Regions from separate parts of the Homo sapiens genome. Here region 1 is linked to region 2. Evidence: promoter capture Hi-C in 16 types of primary human blood cells and fetal thymus (Javierre and others, 2016). All regions are on one chromosome and are shown on one strand. Each heading gives the region's core, a stretch centred on a gene start or on the middle of the fragment in contact. The rest is flanking DNA. Distances are from core to core; before and after follow the strand shown.

Region 1 (5,947 bases), core at 2,219-4,718, 470 kb before region 2:
AAATTTCCTCCCATTTTTCTGACCCCTCTGTCACTACCTTAATTTATTTAGGTGTTTAATGTATTTCAGTATCATTTCCTCTTCTGAATCACTTGAATGACTTTCCAATGAGCCTCCTTATGTACCTCTATATTCTATCCTCAACATTACTAGAAGATTCTTCTAACATCCAGATCTAATACACTTCTCTTATTCAAAATCCTTTCATGATTCCTAAGAGTCTCTGGTAAAATACTTACATCATTCATTGCAGCATATTAGACCCTTAAAGATATAGCCCTTTCTCCCTTTTCAGTTTCCTTTCCTGCCACAGGCACTAAATGCCAGTCAAGCCCACATCCCAGCAGTTCTTCTTCTTTTTTTTTTTTTTTTTTTGAGAGGGAGTCTCGCTCTGTTGCCCAGGCTGGAGTGCAGTGGTACGATCTCGGCTCACTGCAAGATCTGCCTCCCAGGTTCCCGCCATTCTCCTGCCTCAGCCTCCTGAATAGCTGGAACTACAGGCATGCGCCACCACGCCCGGCTAATTTTGTTTTTGTATTTTTAGTAGAGATGGGGTTTCACCGTGTTAGCCAGGATGGCCAGGATGGTCTTGATCTCCTGACCTCATGATCTGCCCGCCTCGGTCTCCCAAAGTGCTGGGATTACAGGCGTGAGCCACCGTGCCCGGCCCCAGCAGTTCTTAAACATACCCTGTTCTTCTCCTTCTGGGTTGCTGCAAAGTTCTCCCTTCTGATTTAAACAGCACTCTTCACTGTATCCTCTTTTTTCATCTAACAAGCTCTTGCTTGTCATTTTCTGGGTGAGCTCAGAAACTGACTCAAAAACCACCTTTTTGCTTTCCTAACCCTCTTCCTCACCATGTCTTAATGGCTGCCCCCATTTGTTTCTATTCTGCTCTTCGTGGAACTTGAAACAAACCTCCTATCTCCTCCTGACCAGGCTGTCAAGGACCTAAGGATAATAATGATGCTCCTGGCATGAAATGGGTTCTCCATAACTGGAGGAAGGAGAGCACAAGACAGAAAGGAAGGATACAGCTGAAATGAATATGCCCTCCCACTACCTTACAGCTCGGCTGGCACAATACTGGCTCCACTCCCATAACCTGGACAATTTGAAAGACAATTCAGATCCCCTCCAGAATCTCTCAGAAAAATTCCCATTCACAACCCACAGAAAAATCTCATGTTTCCTCCTCCACCCCTCCCAATTTCTTCTATATCCCAACAGCTGCCTGAAAGACTATCTCCAATCTCTAGTATTGTTTTCTCCTTTCTGCCTTTCTAACTGCCTTCCTGAATCTATGTTTTCTCTTGAAACATTGAACTTTCCGTTTTAAATATACAACCCAGCTAACCTGATGCAGCATTGCAGGTGGGAAGAAATCACCAGAATGTGAGGAAGTGAAAAAGAGACTTGCCATAAGTTCCCAATGTACTCGGTCTATGGTAGGTCACTTAATACAGTTGCTCTTAACCATGACTGTATATATTAGACTCACCTAGAGAGCTTTCAAAAGTAACCCTGCTCAGGGCCCATGGCAGACCCTTTAGAAAAGCAGAGGCAGCGTTCAAGTATCTCTAAATAATATTTCTGTCTTCCACTTTCCAGTGCCTCAGGAAGCCCACCTCTCCACCCTATCTGGAAACCTACCTCCCTGTAGATCTTTCTCTCCTTTACCCTGATCAAAGTAATACTAGAAGCCCAGTCAACAGACAAAGCATCATTCCTATAAATGCAGAAGGAGGAGGCTGTGCATACTCATAATAAATTTTTTCTATGTCAAGGACTCAATTCAGCTTTTTCTCCCATGCTTAAACCTCTTACTTCTAGGGGGTTCTTACGTTCTTCCTCTAAGCAGAAGTCTTTGCCTCAGTTTCCTGACTGCTAGCCTCAGTATTGAATTCTTCTTTTGCCCCACCCACTAACACACCTTTCAGAAGCTGGGTGACGTATTTGGGTCTCTGCTTCCTGTGAACAGATCTCTTGCTATATACTGATGGATCATCCCAGAACTTCTTAATCCCGCCAAGGATACTGCTAGCACCTTCCCCTAGTGATTAATGCTGGGTCACTCCCAACCACTTCCTTTGTCCCGTGGGTCTTTAAGAACTGTCTCCTGAGTGTTCTGGGTCCTGGAACTCACTGTACTGCATGGATGGCTCTGAACTAATGGAAGGAGAGAGAGAAGAGGGAACACAGAAACAATCCACCTTTAAATGGTCATGGGGCATGGTTAAGAGCTTTTGTAATAGAATAATGATAACATATTCTTAGCAATCATAGGAATAAATTGGTCTTTATCCTATTCTCAAATCATAGAAAGAACTTCAAAGCTGATGCTAGGTCATCTCAGCCTTTTGAATCTCGTTAGCTACCGGAGCAATTCTACTCCATTGTGAAGTTCTCCTTATTGTAAAGTGCACACTGAATTTCACTCCGACAAAAGGAGATTTTAATCCCATTCAACTTTTTAGTTGATCATTGATCATTCCCCAGGTTGACCAGAACCCTCATGGCTTCAAAGACATAAACTCTTGGTGCTCTGTTTCTGGGGCTGGGAATAACAACAGCCAGTTGCACATATACCTAAATGCTGACTAGAGACTAAATATGTATTATAACTTACCATACTGATCTGTAATTCAGAACCAGTCAGTAAAATAAAGCTGACGGAACTCCTGAATTTCCTCTCAGTGAGCATTCCCCATGTGTCTTCTCATTCCAGGGTTGAATGGCGATGACTTCCTGGCTGTGGGCCTGCTCAATGGCAGTGTGGTTTATAGTTATAACCTGGGGTCTGGCATAGCAAGCATCAGGAGCGAGCCCCTCAATCTGAGCCTTGGAGTCCACACTGTTCATCTGGGCAAGTTCTTCCAAGAGGGCTGGCTGAAGGTAAAGAGTCATTCCTTCGTCACTTCCACAAACTGAGAGCACTAGTATATTGTCAGATCTGTGCTAAGATACAGAGGTGAATAGCCCATGATGCCTACATCCACGAAGTTCACAGACTATTGTACCAACTAGGGGAATAGAGAGATGATTACAATTAAGTGGTGTGAGAACAAATAAGAGGGATTACTAACACAGATAAGGGTGAGAGAGAGGATTCAGAAAGTGCTTCCCAGAGAAGGTGATGCTTGAGCGTAACTTCAAATAGGAGTTAAGAAAGAGAACAATGGCCAGTATTAGCTTAAGGAATGCAAGTAGTTCAGCATGGTTTTTAGGTTGGGGGATGGGGGAGCTAGAGAAGTGGTTAGAGACAGATAAGGTCTATATTATCAAAGGGCTTAGATGTGCTAAGAAGTTTATATTTTTATCTAAAGAACTATGAAGAGCTACTTAGGAAGGTGGGTACCATGTTGATTTCTAATTTTTGATAAAGGACTCTGGTGGTTCTATGGAGAATTGATAGCAGAGGAGGAAGGCTAAATGGAGGGGAATCAGCAGGATGCCAGCACCTAATCTTTGAAGAACTTTGATTTTGATTGAAATGCAAAACCATGACTGCTATATTAATATATCCCTGGTAACAGACACCAGCAGAGAAGCAGAGAATTGAGTGGTATCATGTTATTTCTTCAAAATTCAGGTCTTTGTAAATTTTTCATGCCAAGTTAATGGGAAATAACAAAAGAGTATCTTAACATTTCACCCTGGGGAATTAATTCCTTTTTTAATAGGTTTTTTTTCCCTTTCGAAGGTAGATGATCATAAAAATAAATCCATTATCGCCCCAGGAAGACTGGTTGGTCTCAATGTCTTCAGTCAGTTTTATGTAGGTGGCTACAGTGAATACACTCCAGATCTCTTACCAAATGGAGCAGATTTTAAAAATGGTTTTCAAGGTAAGGCATGGACATTTTTTATATTATACCTACTTATTTCAAATGTTGAGGGAAAAAAATATTTTAAAGAGTATACTTCTATTTCCCAAACCAGCTATATGGATTGCTTTCAGACTTGAACAAAGTTTGATTTTAATCAGAAACATTCATTTACTATTTTTTTTTTAGATGGAGTTTCGCTCTTGTTGCCCAGGCTGGAGTGCAATGATGCAATCTGGGCTCACCACAACCTCTGCCTCCTGGGTTCAAGTGATTCTCCTGCCTCAGCCTCCCTAGTAGCTGGGATTACAGGCATGCACAACCACGCCCAGCTAATTTTGCATTTTTAGGAGATGAGGTTTCTCCATGTTGGTCAGGCTGGTCTCGAACTCCCGACCTCAGGTGATCCGCCTGCCTTGGCCTCCCAAAGTGCTGGGATTACAGGCCATGCCCAGCCTCATTTACTATTTATTGACCACTTACTACATATGTACTAGATGTTTAGGATGTTTTAATGAACAAATCAAAGATTTCTGCACTTATAACTAGTTGGAGAGATAAACACTAAATGTAATTAGTTAATTATATAGTCATATAATGTGATAAGTTCAATGGGAAAAGGGAAATGGAGAGCATGATTTAAAGGAATCAGGATTATGGGTAATTGTTTATACAGGGTGCTTTTTAAAATAGGCTGAGCAGGGTAGACTTCAAAGAGTCACAGTAAAAATTGAAAGTCCATCTAACTTTGAAGTTCAAAAGGCAAGAGACAGACTGCAGTCAACCCATCCATACCACCAAGGGGTAGCCCACAGAGGCCAGAGCAAGCCAAGAGGATTAAGGACAACATTGTGCTTGGGTGAGCAATCTTATTGCCACAGTCTGTCTTCCTGTGTTCAAATAGTTCCGTGTTCAAATGAGATCAGCACACACAGAGCTGGCCCTTTCTCTTACAGAAACATTAAGATTGCACACTCCTGGAAGTATGTCAACTGCCACAGTCTTTAGTGAGTATGGGAATCTTGGGCAAGTCTTCTTGGAAATTGCCACTTATGCCACAGTCTTATAGAAAATTCAGGACCTTGAGATCCCCTAATTTTATCATTCTTCTCTTGGATCCTCTCTTAATGTCTGCCTTCCCTCCACTCTAAACTAGCATTTACTATTTATTATAAATCATGGCGTATTGTTACCAACTTACCAGGACAACCAAATTGCAACTGTACCATAAATCCATGGTTCCCAAAGCTGATCTCTACTGGTTCTGAAGAATAATATAGGATAACTTCTTAAAAACACAGATTTCTGAACCCTACCCAAGAACTATTGAATTGAAATCTTTACAGTGGGATCTAAAAATTTGCATTTTAACAAGCCTCCCAGATTTGGAAGCCACCATATATTTTTTAAATTATCTCTTTTTTTTTTTAACTTTAAGTTCTAGGATACAAGTGCAGAATGTGCAGGTTTGTTACATAGTATACATGTGTCATGGTGGTTTGCTACACTCATCAACCCATCATCTAGGTTTTAAGCCCTGCATGCATTAGGTATTTGTCCTAAGGCTCTCCCTCCCCTTGCCCCCCACCCCTTGACAGGCCCCGGTATGTGATGTTCCCCTCCCTGTGTCCGTGCATTTTCATTGTTCAACTCCCACTTATGAGTGAGAACATGAGGTGTTTCATTTTCTGTTCCTGGGTTAATTTGCTGAGAATGATGTGGAAGCCACCACATTAATTAATCATAACGAAGCAAAGCAAATGGAATTTTCTGAAAGAATTTAATAGTTGGAGTAAGGATATCACATTTGTCCTTAGAATTACAATTAAATAATGCAATAAAATATTATCTGATCTAGGCTTTTACATTTTTATAAACTCTTTATTTTTATTTTACTTTACCTTTTTTTTTTTTTTTTTTTGAGTCTCGCTGTGTCATCAAGGCTGGAGTACAGTGGTGCCATCTCAGCTCACTGCAACCTTCATCTCCAGGGCTCAATCAATCCTCCCACCTTAGCCTCTCATGTAGCTGAGCCACTAAACCCAGCTAACATATCCTTACAAAGCTGATTTATATTGTAGTAGAGTTATAAAATAAAGACATGCTTTAAATTGTAATAA
Region 2 (5,980 bases), core at 431-2,930:
TACCATAAATTAGGTTATACACCATATGTCCAACCAAGCTTTAGAACACTTTTTACAAAAATGGGCAAATCAAGGTTCAGGAAAGGATATTATAAAAAAATCATGGATACACATTGAGAAGAAGAGATTGTCAAAATAAGGTAAGGAAAAGAAGATGAAATGAATCAAATTGCATATTCAATAACAATAAAACTCCCAGGAGAAAATTTGGGTAAGTAGTACTATAAAGGAATGATTTTTTTAAAACATGTCCCAATATGTAACTGAACATGTAAACCAGCTTGGAGTTCTTTTCTTTGATATAGGAAAGGGAACATTTCTGAAACAAAAACGAAATTTTTCACAAAACATTTTTTTCCATAGCTCAATGGCACCTGTTTTGCATGGAGACAAGCACATGCAAGAAAAAGTTGTAAAAGTGGAAGCAAATGTGGTCTCAGAAGAGGATTGAGAAAAACTTAGGTAAGGCTCTGGTACAAGACATTGTGGGAATTAAACACCCTACTAGAGATCTGGGGGAAAGCACCAAGAGCAAGTCAAATACTAGGATAGGAGATAGAATCCCTTTTCTTGGGGAGGTTCAAGAGTCCAAAACAGCCATATTCAGGATGCAGTTTCAGGCTGGCATCAGCATCAGAACTAGGTCCAAATTCAAGATCTGGTTGTAGATCAGGCTACACAGAGCAGAAGCTTTAGAGTCAGTCATGGAACAAGTACCAATGGAATGGAAATAGGAATAGTTAATCACTGTCTTTAGGAAATGGGGCTTTTGAAATGGGCCAAGAGAGTCAGGCAGGATTGAGTGGTTGTAAGTATTGGCTTGGTCTTCCTCAGGCCCAGAAGACCAGGAAGAAGTGATTAGCCATGGAGACTATACACTTCCACATGGAAAATGCTTAGAGAGAATTTGGTTTGGTTCAGAAGAAACTGCATATCCTCCTTCATCAACAATACTTGAAGTTGAGTTGATAGCAGCAGAAGTGTGATTTCAAACCCCCTTTACTAGTGAAGAGAAAGCATTCCCTATTTCCTCTACTGAGTTAGGATTGTTTATGGGACCATATGGGGCAGCCTGTAGATGATTCTGTGTTCATTGTGCACAGTGGGGATGGTCTGGGATTTGTCACAGACTGACATCGGAGAATTGGAAAAGCTAAAGAAAGATATTTCAGTTTTATAATGAAGGTCCAGAATTAATTTGGAGGCCAGAGGGACCTAGAAAAGAAAATAAAAATGAGAATTACAAATGAGTGGATCTTTGCCATTGGTAAAAATCTGGGTCACTTATAGCTGTATTTTTCCATCTGTGCTTTTGTCTGTGGGCTTTGATAGCATAGTCGTCTAATAAGTGTTTCATCATCTGAATCTGACAATAGATATCATTCCAGAATACAATTGTTATGTAACAAAAATTCTGTATGTTGGAGAAAAAAATCAACCAACACAATTTTAAGCTTTGTATGTCTTTTGTTTGCAGGGAGTCAGGCGTAAACAAGCATTTGTCATTCGATTCTTCTAGTGCATTTCCAGCATACTGTGCCTTGGGCATGACACATCAGAATCTGATGTTTATCTTTTATTACCTGCCAGACCCCTCTGGAAAAGCCTCTATGGAATTCATCATCTGCAGTCTTTGTTGTAGGTACACATATAAATACATGTTGAATGCATTTGTTGAGGATATTGTGGTTTCTAACGCTGAACTTAAAAAGTGTTGAGATGAATAATGAAGAGGACCTTCTGCAGGAGGTATGAAGCTAATCATTAAAATGTTTTTAACCAAAATATTGACAGTAAATCTTTTTAAAAAATGTCAATTATTTGAATGCCAGTAAGAATAAGGGCAGCATAATTATACTTGTTATATGTCCACTCAGGAGAAGTTTATGAAGAATTGCCCTTCTGTACTACACAGTGAATTTATAAAGATAATAAAAACTAAACAATTCAAAATATTCATCTAGGAAAGCTCATTTGGTTTGAATAATCATTTAAGTTCAATAGGCACTGAGTTTCAGAAGCATAAGTATGCTATAAAAAAATTTATTTCTATTTTGGTTGTTATTGAGAGAATAATCTTTGTTTTTCTCAAAGCTTTGGCCTCTTTCTAATAAATATGCTTTGAGATTAAATGACTAAAGGTGGAAACCTGTTTTCAAATTATATTTGAAATGCACAGCATGAATAATGATAGCCACTTATAGGGTCTAGCATATATTAAAATAATCAGTTGTCAACATATAACATTTCTCCTCACTTCTTAATGTGTGTGTACCCAACCTTCACTCTTGTATTTCTGACTGACCATTCTGAAAGACTGAAGTGCAGACTTGGAGGCAAGCTGTGGTAAAATTTGGGAGGATGTGAGTTATCTTTAGTAGGTTAAGAAAATATAATGCAAGAAGCATACCTACTATGTGAAGAGTGCAGTGGAAGACCAGTGCATTATGTATGAAATAGTGGCATATAGAGAACAAACCTGGTCCCCACTTTTGCATGTAGTGGAGAAGATAGCTAACATCTAAGAATGGGTTCACTGATCTGTATAGTGAATACAAGCAGTTGTTTTGAAATAGAGTCAAGAACAAATGCACTTTCCCTAAGGGAAACTGGGCAAGGCTATGTGAAGAAGGCACTCCCTGAGGAGGAGCTGTGGCTTATCCTGTACTGTCATGTCACTGTTGTAGGCATCAAATGGTGGACATGTTTATGTGATTATAATGAATTTAGCTAAAAGTAAATTCATAGCTGCAAAGGAAGGCTTATAGAAAGAAAGTAAAGGTAATTAGCATATACATCATTAGCTTTTTGGGATTTTGATTTCTAACTATGTAACTTCTTGGACTAGTTTTACTTACTACTTCTGATCCCATGGCAGAACTCTGCTTTCTTCCCCAGCTCCCACAATTTTAGTCCAGGATTCCAGGTGATACAGCTCCCATGAAAGTCCTTAAAAGCCATGCCCTCCTCAAGACCAGTCTAGACCAAATGTTGATTGTTTACTCTTAGGAGAGCAGAAAAATGAACAATATGATTTTTAAACTGCACAATTCTCACAGCAAGAGACATTCTCTGTCTTTTGAGGAAAAGTTCCCTCAAAGTTGGAATAGAGCATTGTATTTACTAGATGTAATAAAGGTGAATCTTGGCTGGCCACTTGACCCAACTCCACTGAATAAGCTCTTTTATACTCTCCTGTATAGGTTCGCATTCTCAGGAAGTGAAAGAATATGGAAGGAGGGAGAGAGATGACATGTGACATTCCTTTTCCAGCTAACAGATGTTTGGAAAAGGACAAGACTGTGTTTCATGCTAGATGCTCTGGTAATGTGAGCAAGAGCAGCATGAAGTTAACTACAAAACACAGCAGCTGAACAAAAGCTCAGTGGATTCCGAAGGGCAGATTGTGTATATGGAGAAAATCCCTCAGAATACTTACTTCCCCAGTCTGAAGAAATTCTTTGTCAGAATATTCAGTAAAATGAACAGTTATTAATCTTAGGTTTGGTACTCCCCTAAAGAATATTTTACTGAGATTCTCTATTTAAAACAATGCTGTAAAGTCATGCATTCAGCTACATTCTTAGCAGTGGCAGACAAAAAATAGATTGAAAACACATTCTTACTTCTTAAAGTAGATCCTATGGGTGTATGAAATTGTGAAATTGAGTGAAAGAGTGGCATATCATAACAATTAAAATCTGTTTATCAAGAACCTTGTGTGTGGTGCTGAGCTGGGTAATATGTCAAGTGAGTAAGATCTGTTCCCCACCCTGCAGATATTTATAACTCAATACAGAGAACACTGACACAGGTAGACACAGTTCTGACGTTTCCATATCACAGAAGGAATGAATGCCATCTGGGGTGAAGTCAGAGACTCATCCTGCTCTGCAGCCTGTATCTGTTGGGGGCATGAAGTGCAGCCCCATGGGAGGCTCTACCTGACCTTCTAGAGGCTTGCTTCAAGAGGCTAGAGATTTACCTACCCCAGCTTTCCCTGCTTTATGCTATTGTCTGTGTGACTCTAGAGACCTCCTGATTCTTGTTTTGTATTTTCCATTTGTTTTGTCTCTGAGAATTCAGAAGATTTGTCTTCTGAAGATTTCAAGGTTTATAGTTCATTTTATAATTATTTACCTCAAACTTACCTACTTCCAGTGTATCAACTAGCTCTCCATTTAAGAATTCTCAGTGGAGAGACAAGACAAAAATTAGATTTGAGTTTCAAGGGCAGTGGATTAAGCTCGCACTTCCTGAAATGAGAATGCCTGCATTTTAATCTTGGCTCTGCTACTTACTAGCTGTGTGACATGGGGCAAAGTATTGGACTTCTCTGTACCTCACTGGGACATTAATAGTGCCTACAGGAAGGGATTTTGTGGAGATTAAATGAGTTAATACATGTAAAGTGCTTAGAACTGTGCTTACAATATAGTGAGAACTCATTAAAAAGGAGTCATTCATTACATATACTTTATTATGTTATGTTGACCTCTAATAGCTCTCCTGTTTTCATTTTTACAGCCTTAAAGAGTTTTACATGTTTTCCTTTACATGATAGAATTTGTTTGCTTATGATAGTAATGATAACAATTATATATAATATACCTTTTTACATAAACATATATCCATCCACTTCTAGCCTATTAAGGCTTTCCTAAGGCACAATGACTAGAACTATTTTTAGCAATCAGTTACAGGCATATCATAATTTTTTTAAAGGGTAGAGCACCTTCCCCTCTCACATTTAAAGTATTTTTATATTCATATTTGCAGTATTTTTATATGCTGCAGCAGCCCATTAGCTGATATCTTCACGAACAGTTCCATAACATTCTTGGATCTTTTTTCATACTATATTACAGAGCCCATTATCATAAATATATATTATATATACATGAATATTTAAATTTTTTCTACATGTCTTTTTACCTTTGAAATATTTTTGTTGCTTTTCTGCTCACCCACAAAGCCTTCACAAATTATTTTTGTCCTGTCTACATGGATAAATATATTTTTAGCCATACGATCTTAATTTCTCTAAAAAATATGGAGAATTCTTCTTTGATTTAATTATGAACATACTAAATAAAACAAAACTTTTTGCTTCCTTTATTATTTTAGTGTTCTTTATTATTTAGCTTCATATTATCAAAATCACATGGTGTTAGACCTTTGTAAAATTATGTTTTTCCTTCTCTGAAAATGTTTGGTTAGGTATATTTTTCTTGTGTAGAACTTCTATTGTAGATTTTGCATAACTTGCCCACAGAGGTGAGATTTGTTTATGGGTTGATACACACTGTTGACTATTAGCCAATTTGTTAGAAATAAAAACGAGACTCATAGCTTTTCATATGGGAGCAGCTATATCATTTACATTCTGATACTTCTTTCACACAGAGCTCTCAGTAATGATCGTTGCTCTATCATTCTCGGTCACATATGAATGTTCCACCTAATCTGCCAACTTAGGTCTAGGTTATTATCTTGTAAAAGTGGTGAGGATTAAACAGTTAGAAAGTGAAAATTTGATTGTAGAAGTGGAAATTAACCAGGTTGACCCTGACATTTGGCTAATCTCCCCACAAATGTGCTTGGAGATGAGAAACTCAACACTTTGACAAATAACCCATTCCATTTTGGGCTTATTATATTAAGTAAAATTCTGATTCATTGCAAATTCCAAGCAATTTATCTGGATTTTCCTTCTGTGCTTTGTTTTACTTCAAAAGATAGAGATACTATTGAACTCTCACTTGAAATGTGGAGTTTTTTTTTTTTTTAAGACCTGGATTTCCTTAGTTTTCTGTATTTTGTCACATATAAAGTTTGTAAGTAGCATGAAGAGATGAAATAAGAGTTGTAAACCACACATATTTGAATTCTGCTATGTTCTAGCTATGAAGCCAGTCAAGTTGCTGCATTTATCAGATCCTCAGTTGCCTCACTGAAATATATATCTATATATTTATAT

Evidence for each region. Contacts are between HindIII fragments. The CHiCAGO score rates a contact against its expected background, and 5 or more counts as called.
Region 1: a contact is called between a fragment that was not itself captured here and the fragment with the promoter of LGSN in region 2, in 9 of 17 cell types (M2 macrophages, M1 macrophages, endothelial precursors and 6 more). The highest score is 8.0, in M2 macrophages.

Annotation. Positions count from the first base shown.
Region 1 is chr6:63,786,006-63,791,952 of GRCh38, reverse strand. EYS (eyes shut homolog) reads left to right here. Exons shown (of 43, transcript NM_001142800.2): 38 at 2,729-2,895; 39 at 3,704-3,848. Among named protein-coding and RNA genes, the nearest start is that of SCAT8, 18 kb to the left of the region's middle. The HindIII fragment of the contact is 9,890 bases long and covers 1-5,947 here.
Region 2 is chr6:63,315,683-63,321,662 of GRCh38, reverse strand. It overlaps LGSN (lengsin, lens protein with glutamine synthetase domain), which reads left to right and starts at 1,680. Exons shown (of 4, transcript NM_016571.3): 1 at 1,680-1,749. The coding sequence starts at 1,720. The HindIII fragment of the contact is 640 bases long and covers 1,457-2,096 here.